Linked DNA regions of Homo sapiens: region 2 is linked to region 1. The links are contacts of gene promoters, found by promoter capture Hi-C in human tissues and cell types (Jung and others, 2019). All regions are on one chromosome and are shown on one strand. Each heading gives the region's core, a stretch centred on a gene start or on the middle of the fragment in contact. The rest is flanking DNA. Distances are from core to core; before and after follow the strand shown.

Evidence for each region. The method cuts DNA at HindIII sites, captures the fragments that hold promoters and counts their contacts. A contact is called where the count stands out against the background at its distance.
Region 2: a contact is called between a fragment that was not itself captured here and the fragment with the promoter of KIF2B in region 1, in 1 of the 25 tissues and cell types used here (heart right ventricle).

Annotation. Positions count from the first base shown.
Region 1 is chr17:53,821,011-53,826,160 of GRCh38, forward strand. KIF2B (kinesin family member 2B) reads left to right here and starts at 1,917. Exons shown (of 1, transcript NM_032559.5): 1 at 1,917-4,183. The coding sequence starts at 2,024. The coding sequence ends at 4,045. It overlaps LOC124904030 (a long non-coding RNA gene), which reads right to left and starts at 1,916. Exons shown (of 2, transcript XR_007065851.1): 1 at 1,714-1,916. The HindIII fragment of the contact is 8,156 bases long and covers 1-5,150 here.
Region 2 is chr17:54,888,964-54,894,113 of GRCh38, forward strand. No RefSeq gene overlaps it. Among named protein-coding and RNA genes, the nearest start is that of TOM1L1, 9.3 kb to the right of the region's middle. The HindIII fragment of the contact is 6,052 bases long and covers 1-5,150 here.

The sequences.
Region 1 (5,150 bases), core at 667-3,166:
TGGCACTATTATCATGGATCTGCTCATCCATTGTCTGTCTAAAACATTACTAGCTAAGATGAAAACCCTATGGCTAGCCTGGAGGGTCTAGAGTTTTCATAATTTTGAGAGAGACCCAGCTTTTTCAAAGGTAACGGTTAAAAAAACAAAGCAAAACAAACTATTATGTGGGCTCAGTGGCTCAAGCCTATATTTCTATCACTTTGGGAGGGTGAGAAGGGAGACTCCCTTGAGGTCAGGAGTTTGAGACCAGTCTCTGTGCAACACAGCGAGACCTCATCCCTAGCAAAAAAAAAAAAAAGAAAAAAAAAAAAAAGAAAGAAACAAAGAAAGAAAATAGCAAAGCATCCTGACACATGCCTGTAATTCCAGCTACTCAGGAAGCTGAGATGGTAGGATGGCTTTAACCTAGGAGTATGAGGTGGCAGTGAGCTATGATCAGGCCACTGTACTCCAACTTGAATGACAGAGTGCTAATGACAAATACAGTGTATTAAGAATATCTACATCATGGCCTTGAAACCAAGAAAGAACAACTGATTTAAAGCACAACTTTAAGTATTGATAATTTGGGGAAATAAAACATGATATTTTTTAGAAGACAATTGCCTAAAGCCCTTTCTCCTCTCCCTCCACCTGCATACAACCTCCTCTTGAAATGAGCACTGCTTACTTATCTAATTTATCCAGTATCCTCCTTCCACCTTCTTTTCAAAATCTAAGCTTTACTAGACTGACTGAACAGAAAAGTTAGTTTATAGTAGAATTTATTTCTATAGAGGCCCTTATTCCTAGGGAAGGTTGTAACTTGCTACTTCATGTTACTTTGGAGCTATAATTATGATAAAATTCAACAGTCCAAAAGACAACATGCACGGGTGTTGCTAGTGAGCTGAACGTAAGGCATCACCCTTACTCTGAGCTTGGCCTGTCTAAAAGTCAATGTCATTTATTTTATAAGCTAATTCTTATGCATGAAAATATTGCAATCTTGGCAAAATATATTTTTGCATCCGATGGTCTTAGCTGCCTTCCAGCCTTGCTTAACAACTTCTAAAGGACACACACAAGTACTGCAGGGGTGGGGGGAGTATAAGATTAATTATCTCTTTCCACACAATGCCTTTTCTTTCTCTCCCAATTATGGATAATGAGGCCAGAAGTGTAATTACTGAAGGAGTTTGGAAAGGTAATTACTGAACTAATCTCAAAAATGGTGGTGACCACAGCACAACAAAACTCACTTTATAGCTGTCAGAGCCACTTGGAATGTGATACACATGTTGTGTTTGCAAACCCAGGTGCTGTACGAAAGGTAGTTTCATATTAGCAAATTACCACAACGACCTGCTACATTCTACTCATTTTGATTTTGTAATGAGAAAGCCGATTAAACTGTAATAACTTTAAGTTGTGACTCTTAAACAAGTTACACGTTTTGAAGGAGGTGAAAAAACAAAGATGGCGGGTTTGAGGAGCCTTTCTGGGATCCTGTTGAATATCGAGTCCTGAGATTTGCAAATAGCTCTACCTTCATCTATTCCCACTGATCACTGGAGAGTTAAAGTTTAAGGAAACTTCATAGCAATTCTCAAATTAAAGCACTGAGCTTTGAGACTGCCAGCCAAGGCCTCCTTTTATGCTTAGGCATAAATGTACACGGGACATATAAATTAAATTTCAACGCCATGGTTCCCGTTGCTTCTCTGTTACCTGTTCTTTCTCGCCATGATCCGGAGAGCACGCCACATCCTCCTCCAACCCCTTCACCCTCACTGGCAGAGAACAATCTCTCCATCCCTTTGTGCTCCCGTACCATTCACTCCTAAGCCCTAGGTTCTGCCGCCTCATCTCATCCCTTTGTGACGTAGTGGCCCCAGTCCGGGCCCCGGCGCGCTAGGCTCACAAAGGCAGGCACAGACTGCAACCCTGCTCAGTGCTCCGGGCGCTTCAGGCTGGCTTGGGTCCTGCTGCTCCAACCCCAAGGGCCCTGGAGCGCTCCCTGATACCTCCATCACTCACCATGGCCAGCCAGTTCTGCCTCCCTGAATCCCCATGTCTCTCGCCCCTGAAACCCTTGAAGCCACATTTCGGAGACATCCAAGAGGGCATCTACGTGGCGATCCAGCGCAGTGACAAGCGGATCCACCTCGCTGTGGTCACGGAGATCAACAGAGAAAACTATTGGGTCACGGTAGAGTGGGTGGAGAAAGCAGTCAAAAAAGGCAAGAAGATTGACCTGGAGACCATACTCCTGCTGAATCCAGCTCTGGACTCTGCTGAACACCCCATGCCGCCCCCGCCCTTATCCCCCTTGGCTCTGGCGCCCTCTTCGGCCATCAGGGACCAGCGTACCGCCACGAAATGGGTTGCGATGATCCCCCAGAAAAACCAAACAGCCTCAGGGGACAGCCTGGATGTGAGGGTCCCCAGCAAACCTTGTCTGATGAAGCAGAAAAAGTCTCCCTGCCTCTGGGAAATCCAGAAACTGCAGGAGCAGCGGGAAAAGCGCAGGCGGCTGCAGCAGGAGATCCGAGCTAGACGCGCCCTCGATGTCAATACCAGAAACCCCAACTACGAAATCATGCACATGATCGAAGAGTATCGCAGGCACCTGGACAGCAGCAAGATCTCAGTCCTGGAGCCCCCGCAAGAACATCGCATCTGCGTCTGCGTGAGGAAGCGGCCTCTCAACCAGCGAGAGACAACCTTAAAGGACCTGGATATCATCACCGTCCCCTCGGACAATGTGGTTATGGTGCATGAGTCCAAGCAAAAGGTGGACCTCACTCGCTACCTGCAGAACCAGACCTTCTGCTTCGACCATGCCTTCGATGACAAAGCCTCCAACGAGTTGGTGTACCAGTTCACCGCCCAGCCACTGGTGGAGTCCATCTTCCGCAAGGGCATGGCCACCTGCTTTGCCTATGGGCAGACGGGAAGTGGGAAGACGTACACCATGGGTGGAGACTTTTCAGGAACGGCCCAAGATTGTTCTAAGGGCATTTATGCTCTGGTGGCACAGGATGTCTTTCTCCTGCTCAGAAACTCCACATATGAGAAGCTGGACCTCAAAGTCTATGGGACATTTTTTGAGATTTATGGGGGCAAGGTGTATGATTTGTTGAACTGGAAGAAGAAGCTGCAAGTCCTTGAGGATGGCAATCAGCAAATCCAAGTGGTCGGGCTGCAGGAGAAAGAGGTGTGTTGTGTGGAGGAAGTGCTGAACCTGGTGGAAATAGGGAATAGCTGTCGGACTTCCAGGCAAACACCTGTCAACGCTCACTCATCCAGGAGCCATGCAGTGTTCCAGATCATCCTGAAGTCAGGACGGATAATGCATGGCAAGTTTTCCCTCGTTGATTTAGCTGGGAATGAAAGAGGAGCAGATACAACCAAGGCCAGCCGGAAAAGGCAGCTGGAAGGGGCAGAGATTAACAAGAGTCTTCTAGCCCTCAAAGAATGTATTCTGGCTTTGGGTCAGAACAAGCCTCACACCCCATTCAGAGCCAGCAAACTCACACTGGTGCTCCGGGACTCCTTTATAGGCCAGAACTCCTCCACTTGCATGATTGCTACCATCTCTCCGGGGATGACCTCTTGTGAAAACACTCTCAACACTTTAAGATATGCAAACAGAGTAAAAAAATTAAATGTAGATGTAAGGCCCTACCATCGTGGCCACTATCCGATTGGACATGAGGCACCAAGGATGTTAAAAAGTCACATCGGAAATTCAGAAATGTCCCTTCAGAGGGATGAATTTATTAAAATACCTTATGTACAGAGTGAGGAGCAGAAAGAGATTGAAGAGGTTGAAACATTACCCACTCTGTTAGGGAAGGATACCACAATTTCAGGGAAGGGATCTAGCCAATGGCTGGAAAACATCCAGGAGAGAGCTGGTGGAGTACACCATGATATTGATTTTTGCATTGCCCGGTCTTTGTCCATTTTGGAGCAGAAAATTGATGCTCTGACCGAGATCCAAAAGAAACTGAAATTATTACTAGCTGACCTCCACGTGAAGAGCAAGGTAGAGTGAAGCCAATGGCGAGAGATCAGGTCCGAAATGCTGCATTGCTGCAGTTTCCACCACTCTTATACAGGAAAACTGTCCAAATTATCTAAAGATCCTCCTGAGAAGCTTAAAACATCTTAAAATACACTGATGGGAAACATGCTCTTTCTTCTGCCTCTGTATTTCTGTAGTTTGTTTTCATCCTGCTGAACTATAGTTTTCAACAGGGAATGGTTCCTCCCCACCCCCTACCAGGACATTTGGCGATGTCTGGAAACATTTTTGATTGTCACAACTGGGGGTGATGAGGATACTGGCATACAGTAGTTTGAGGACCAGAAATGCTGCTAAGCATTCTAAAGTGTACAGCAGCAGTCCCCAACCTTTTTGACACCACAGACCGGTTTTGTGGAAGGGAGTTGTTCCGTGGGTGGGGTTGGGGATGAAACTGTTCCACTTCAGATCATCAGGCATTAGTCTCCTAAGGAGCATGCAACAACCTATATCCCTCACATGCACAGTTCACAATAGGGTTCATGCTCCTGTAAGAATCTAATGCTCCTGCTGATCTGACAAGAGGGGGAGCTCAGGCGGTAATGCCCGCTCACTGCCAGCTTGCCTTCTGTTGTGTAGTGTGATTCCCAAAAGACCACAGACCTACCGGTCTGCAGCCCAGGGGTTGGGGACCCTGAAGTGTACAGGACAGCTTCTCACAGCAAGTGACTACCCTGTTGCAAACATCAATGGTATCGAGGTAGAGAAACCCTGCTGTAGAAGAAACCAGCTGTGATGAAAGCAGATACACTAAATTTCCAGCTGGGAAAGCAAAACACTGTGAGTTAAAGGAAATAGATTGGAAAGACACCAGGGGTACACAATGGAGTAAATCTAATGATACTGCTCATGAATCTTTCTCTTGCATTGCTGTTTAGATTCAAATGGTTTTTAAGATCTAATCATATTGGGAGGCTGGATTTTCCTTGAAACCATGTATGAGAGCCTAGAATTGAGAGGGACTTTTTAAAAGAAACATTTGAGTTGAAATGGCAAAGTATTGTACTCCCTAGAAGTGATTAAAGTGCATGTGTGTAGGGGTGTGTGTATGTGTGTGTGCACGTTTTGCCTAAGT
Region 2 (5,150 bases), core at 1,271-3,770, 1.1 Mb after region 1:
TCACCCTTACTTTGGATGCCCCCTCCTAATCGAATCAGCCAAAATGCTGGGGTCGAATGATTCAGCACAGGGATTTTCCAAGTATGACCTGCAGGGCAAACCTGACCTGCCATCTATGTTTGTACATTCATTAGTTTATATATCGTCCATGACTGCTTTTGTGCTACAATGGCAGACAGAGTTGACTAGATGCCAGCAGAGCTTAAAATATTTACTACCTGGCCTCTTACAGACAATATTTGCTGATTCCTGATTGAGAATACGGATAAGCGTTCAGTGTAAGAAAGTGCACCGGAAAGGAACTGTAAATGGGTTTTCTTAGGAAGGGCTCAGGAGTATAGCAGATATTCTGAGGCCAAAGATCTCAGGGAAGCTGCAGGTTGGTCTTCTTTGGTCCATATACACGCCATACACTAAATAAACATGTACACATACAAGTATATACTTATATATGTATGATTTTACATGAAAAGTATATACAAGTATATACTTATATATGATTTTAAATGAAGATATAAATTAATTCATTTAAAAGTGAAACTGATTCTATACTATCTTTAATAACTTTTTTTTTAACATGAATCAGAATGCAACTCTAATCACGATGCAAACCCCTGATTTAGCAATATCAAAACTGTACATGACCTGTTTTGCATTCCTATTTAGCCCTGGAATGCAACCAATGCTATTGTTGTTCCTATGTTTTTGTAAGGAACATGGTTGGTAGGACATTCACTTTATAACTTGGGGCTAAGACTAATAGAAAATACTATGATTTCTACCACTTTCATCCCTACTACTTTTGAAGCTCATCCTGATCTTTTTATAATTAAGAAGCTTAATGAGGAAACATTGTGTGACTACTAGGCTCAAGGACTTGAGGAAAAGTAAATTTTCTGCCCATCTGCATGAAGAATTAACTTTGTCCACTGGTTTATAATTTCTTCCTTACTTGATTGTGAGCACTGAGCACTTGGGATGCAGAGATTGGATTTTAGCTTGTTCATATACACTAATTCCTAGCATCGTGACTGGCGCATTTGGGGACTTCATTATGTGTTTGTGGAATGAATGAGTGCATGCTGTCATATGTTCTCATTGCTCAGTTGGTAAAGCTAACATAGAAGGACTTATAACTGTAAAAGACACTAGGACACCTTTGTAACTGCTCTCACCACTACAGAGATGGGCTAGCACTGAAAAGTAAAAGTTGTCTCTATAAAAGAGTGAGGCACAGAATACGTGAGTTTCAGACTGACCAGAGCTCTCTTCCCCTACGTTGCATTGGTCATTACACTATTTGGTCATCACATTATTTGTTCTCAGGCCTACACTAACAGGCCTGGGTCTAACCCTATGCTGCCCAGATCTTTAATCCAGGACTCAATCCTCCATGCAAAGTTAGTTCCTGGTTTGTACTCCCATGATACTGTGTCCATATTTTTGTTTAACACTTAGACTGAACTGCAATGATCTGCTTACTAGGAAGTTTCCCTCACTGGCTTAGAAGTCCATGTTGTACCTCTGTATAAAATTCAATAATGTGTGATAAAGGAAGGAAGGAATAAATGAGCTAATAAGCATGTAAAATATAAGTCACTATCCCCTTTCATCTCCTTGATGATTTAAGCTGATTGATCGTGACATCCATCCTCGTTAGACCCACCTTCAACCTCTCCCCTTTCTTAATGGTTTTGCCTCTCCAAACGGTCTCCAACAATAGTTCAAAGTTGGGGCCAGGTGTGGTGGCTCATGCCTGTAATCCCAACACTTTGGGAGGCCCAGGTGGGCGGATCACTGGAGGTCAGGAGTTTGAGAGCAGCCTGGCAAACATGGTGAAACCCTGTCTCTACTAAAAGTACAAAAAAAAAAAAATTAGCTGGGTGTGGTGGTGTATGCCTGTAATCCCAGCTACTTGGGAGGCTGAGGCAGGAGAATCTCTAGAACCCAGAGGCAGAGGTTGTAGTGAGCCAAGACTATGCCACTGCACTTCAGCCTGGGTGACAGAACAAGACTCCGTCTCAAATAAATAAATAAATAAACCTCACACACAAACACACACACACACACACACAAAGTTTGCATAACTATAGGTATGTATGTGTTATCAGAGATTCAAATCCCAGACATGGCCTTTGTGAAAGCATCCCCTCCTGCAGCCACCTAATTTCTGATACATGTCAACCTTCCCAAGCAACTCATTTCCCTGGACCCCCCATCTGCCTGCTAAATAAGTAATACCAGGTTTCACTGCCAATGTAAGACCCTCAGGGAGTAAAAACAGTGAGCAGCATCAATGTGCTTCCCAGCAGAGCAACTAGCCTTCAGCAAATAAAACACCCTGAAAACAGCTGGCTGGGGTTCCTGGAGCCCTCCTCCCCCTCCAATGAATCATTCTGTAGAATGTGGCTGCCCAGCTAGGCCTTTGGGAGAATTCGATAAGTTAAACAAGGCTGCCCTCTCATGGTTAAAAAAACTACCTGTATAAAATGTTTTCTATTTTTCAAACACAAGAAATCCAGGGCACCCCATTGAAAAACCTGTGTAATACTTATCTTTTTAAAGCAGATAATTTAAAGTATGCTGCAGTCAGCTTCTAAGAAACAATGAATGATAAATAGAAGTGAAAAAGTATATTCCAAATTTTAAAACTTGCTCTAGATTGAATTATAATCAACAAGAATTCATTACTGATTCTAGAATTTAAGTAGATGAAATAATTGCCCAAACTTGATAAGCCAATAATAAAAAATGAAACAAAGAATTGCTTAATGCATGGGATTTCTGTCTTAGGTAATTTATTTTAGACTTTAGTTGGCTTACACAGCAGTAACACTGGTTCTGTTTATATATTAATTCATTTAGTAAATATCTGCAAAGAATATACTAGAGAATCTCAACTACTGTAAGATGTAATTTTTTCCTCCATATTTTTAACATCTTTAATGCAGCCAGGTGTGGTGGCTCACGCCTGTAATCCCAGCACTTTGGGAGGCCGAGTTGGGCAGATCACCTGAGGTCAGGAGTTAGAGACCAGCCTGGCCAACACAGTGAAACCCCGTCTCTATTAAAAGTGCAAAAAAAAAAAAAATTAGCCAGGCGTTGTGGTGGGCACCTGTAATACCCGTTATTTGGGAGGCTGAGGCAGGAGAATTGCTTGAACCTGGAAGGCGGAGGTGGCAATGAGCCAAGATGGCGCCACTGCACTCCAGCCTGGGCGACAAAGGAAAACTCTGTCTCCAAAATAAAAATAAAAATAAAAACATCTCTAATGCACCTCACAACCTGTGGTATGTTATAATCTCTGTCAGCCAGGCAACAGCAGAAATGCATACATAGTTGTCATTGCGTGGGTATGTGCGATCTGCTTGTCATTTCTGATGGCTTATGGGACACTGACACCCTTGATATTTCAGTCCCAAATCTATTTAAGGACAATTTGGGGAAGAAAAACAAGTCCTGTTTGTTGTCTGGAAAAGCTTTCATTGATACTTTCTAGTAAGATCAAAAAAGCACCACTATCAAAATTTAAACTGAGTGTCAACAGCTTATAATAAAGTATTGGGAGACAATAGCAGCACTCTCTAAAAAAATGCAGTGTCACCAGTGCTGATAGTGGCATAAAAGATGACAGGGTGTGGAAAAACACATTGATGTCTCTGAGTCAAGGAGTGAGTTTGGAGAGCTGGATTCTGTATGGGAAGAAGAAATAGTATCTTTGTTAATTAATTAATTAATTATGAGATGGAGTTTTGCTCTTGTCGCCCAGGCTGGAGTATCTTGGCACAATCTCAGCTCATTGCAACCTCTCTCCCAGGTTCAAGTGATTCTCCTGCCTCAGCCTCCCAAGTAGATGGGATTACAGTCGCCCACCACCATGCCCGGCTAATTTTTATATTTTTGGTAGAGACATGGTTTCACCATGTTGGCCAGGCTGATCTCGAACTTGCGACCTAAGGTGATCCACCTGCCTAGGCCCCCCAAAGTATGGGATTACAGACGTGAACCACCAGGCCCGGCCATCTTTGTTAATTTATTTTGCTTACATTTTCCTTTTCACATTTGTAAAAGAGTCATATATGCAAAACGTCATGTCCAATGATTCTCAAAATGTTATTTAAATAAACACAAAATAAAAATTATAACTAATAAAAAAGTAGTATCTCATAGTTTAACTGGAAGCTTTTTTTTCCTTTTTGTTGTGCCAAAAAATAGTGCATCTTATCACAGAAAGAGTTTTAGATATAATGAACTATGGAACATACAAGGCGGTGTTGCAGTCACTGAATAATGCAGTGATGAGCAAAACAGAACTTTCTGTGCCCTCCCCAAGCCAGATAAGAAGACATCTATAAACATGCAAACAAATGAAGAAATGAGAGCATTTCAAATAGCAGTAAATGCTATGAAGACAATAACCCAGAATAAGAGGATAAAGAGAGGTGGGGAGGGCAAGGAGGCTTTAAATCAGCACTGTAGGTAGAATCAGGAGAAGCACAGGGGAGCTGCACATCACACCATAGTAGGTAGGAGAAGAAATGCATTCAAGGAGCAGGCAGAGGTCAACAGTGACAAATGGTATTAGAAGAGAAAAGAAGGTGAGGTGGGAGGACTGTTCTTAATATCAGCAAGATGATGTCTTTTAAAAATGGTATTATAGCTGGACTAAAACTAAAACAGGTTATAGGACGAATGGATGACCAAATCTGCTCTTTTTGGGGAGATCTGCTTTAGGGCCTGAGGGAAACAGTTGGCCTAGAGGGCTGTGGCTGCAGCGCAATATAGAATCACAAGGGTATATTTTGTGGAGCAAGGGAGCAATATTAAGTCTTGCAAGGCAAGTAAACAAATAATTGCACAAAACAATTTCAGATTATAAACAGTGTTATAAAGGACATAACCAAGATGATATGATGGAAAACAGGAAACAGAAGCCTACTTTAAGCTTTGGGCTCCAACAGTTATTGAACACCAAGGACATGCCAGGCATTTATTAAGAGCATTCAAATGTCAACTCATTTAATCTTGAGACCTACTTTTTGAGATATGTTCAATTAGTTCCATTGTTGCAGATAAAGAAACTAAGGTTCTGAAATAGTGATTTGTCTGTCAAAGATCAATTAGTAAATGGTAGCCCTGGGATTAGAACC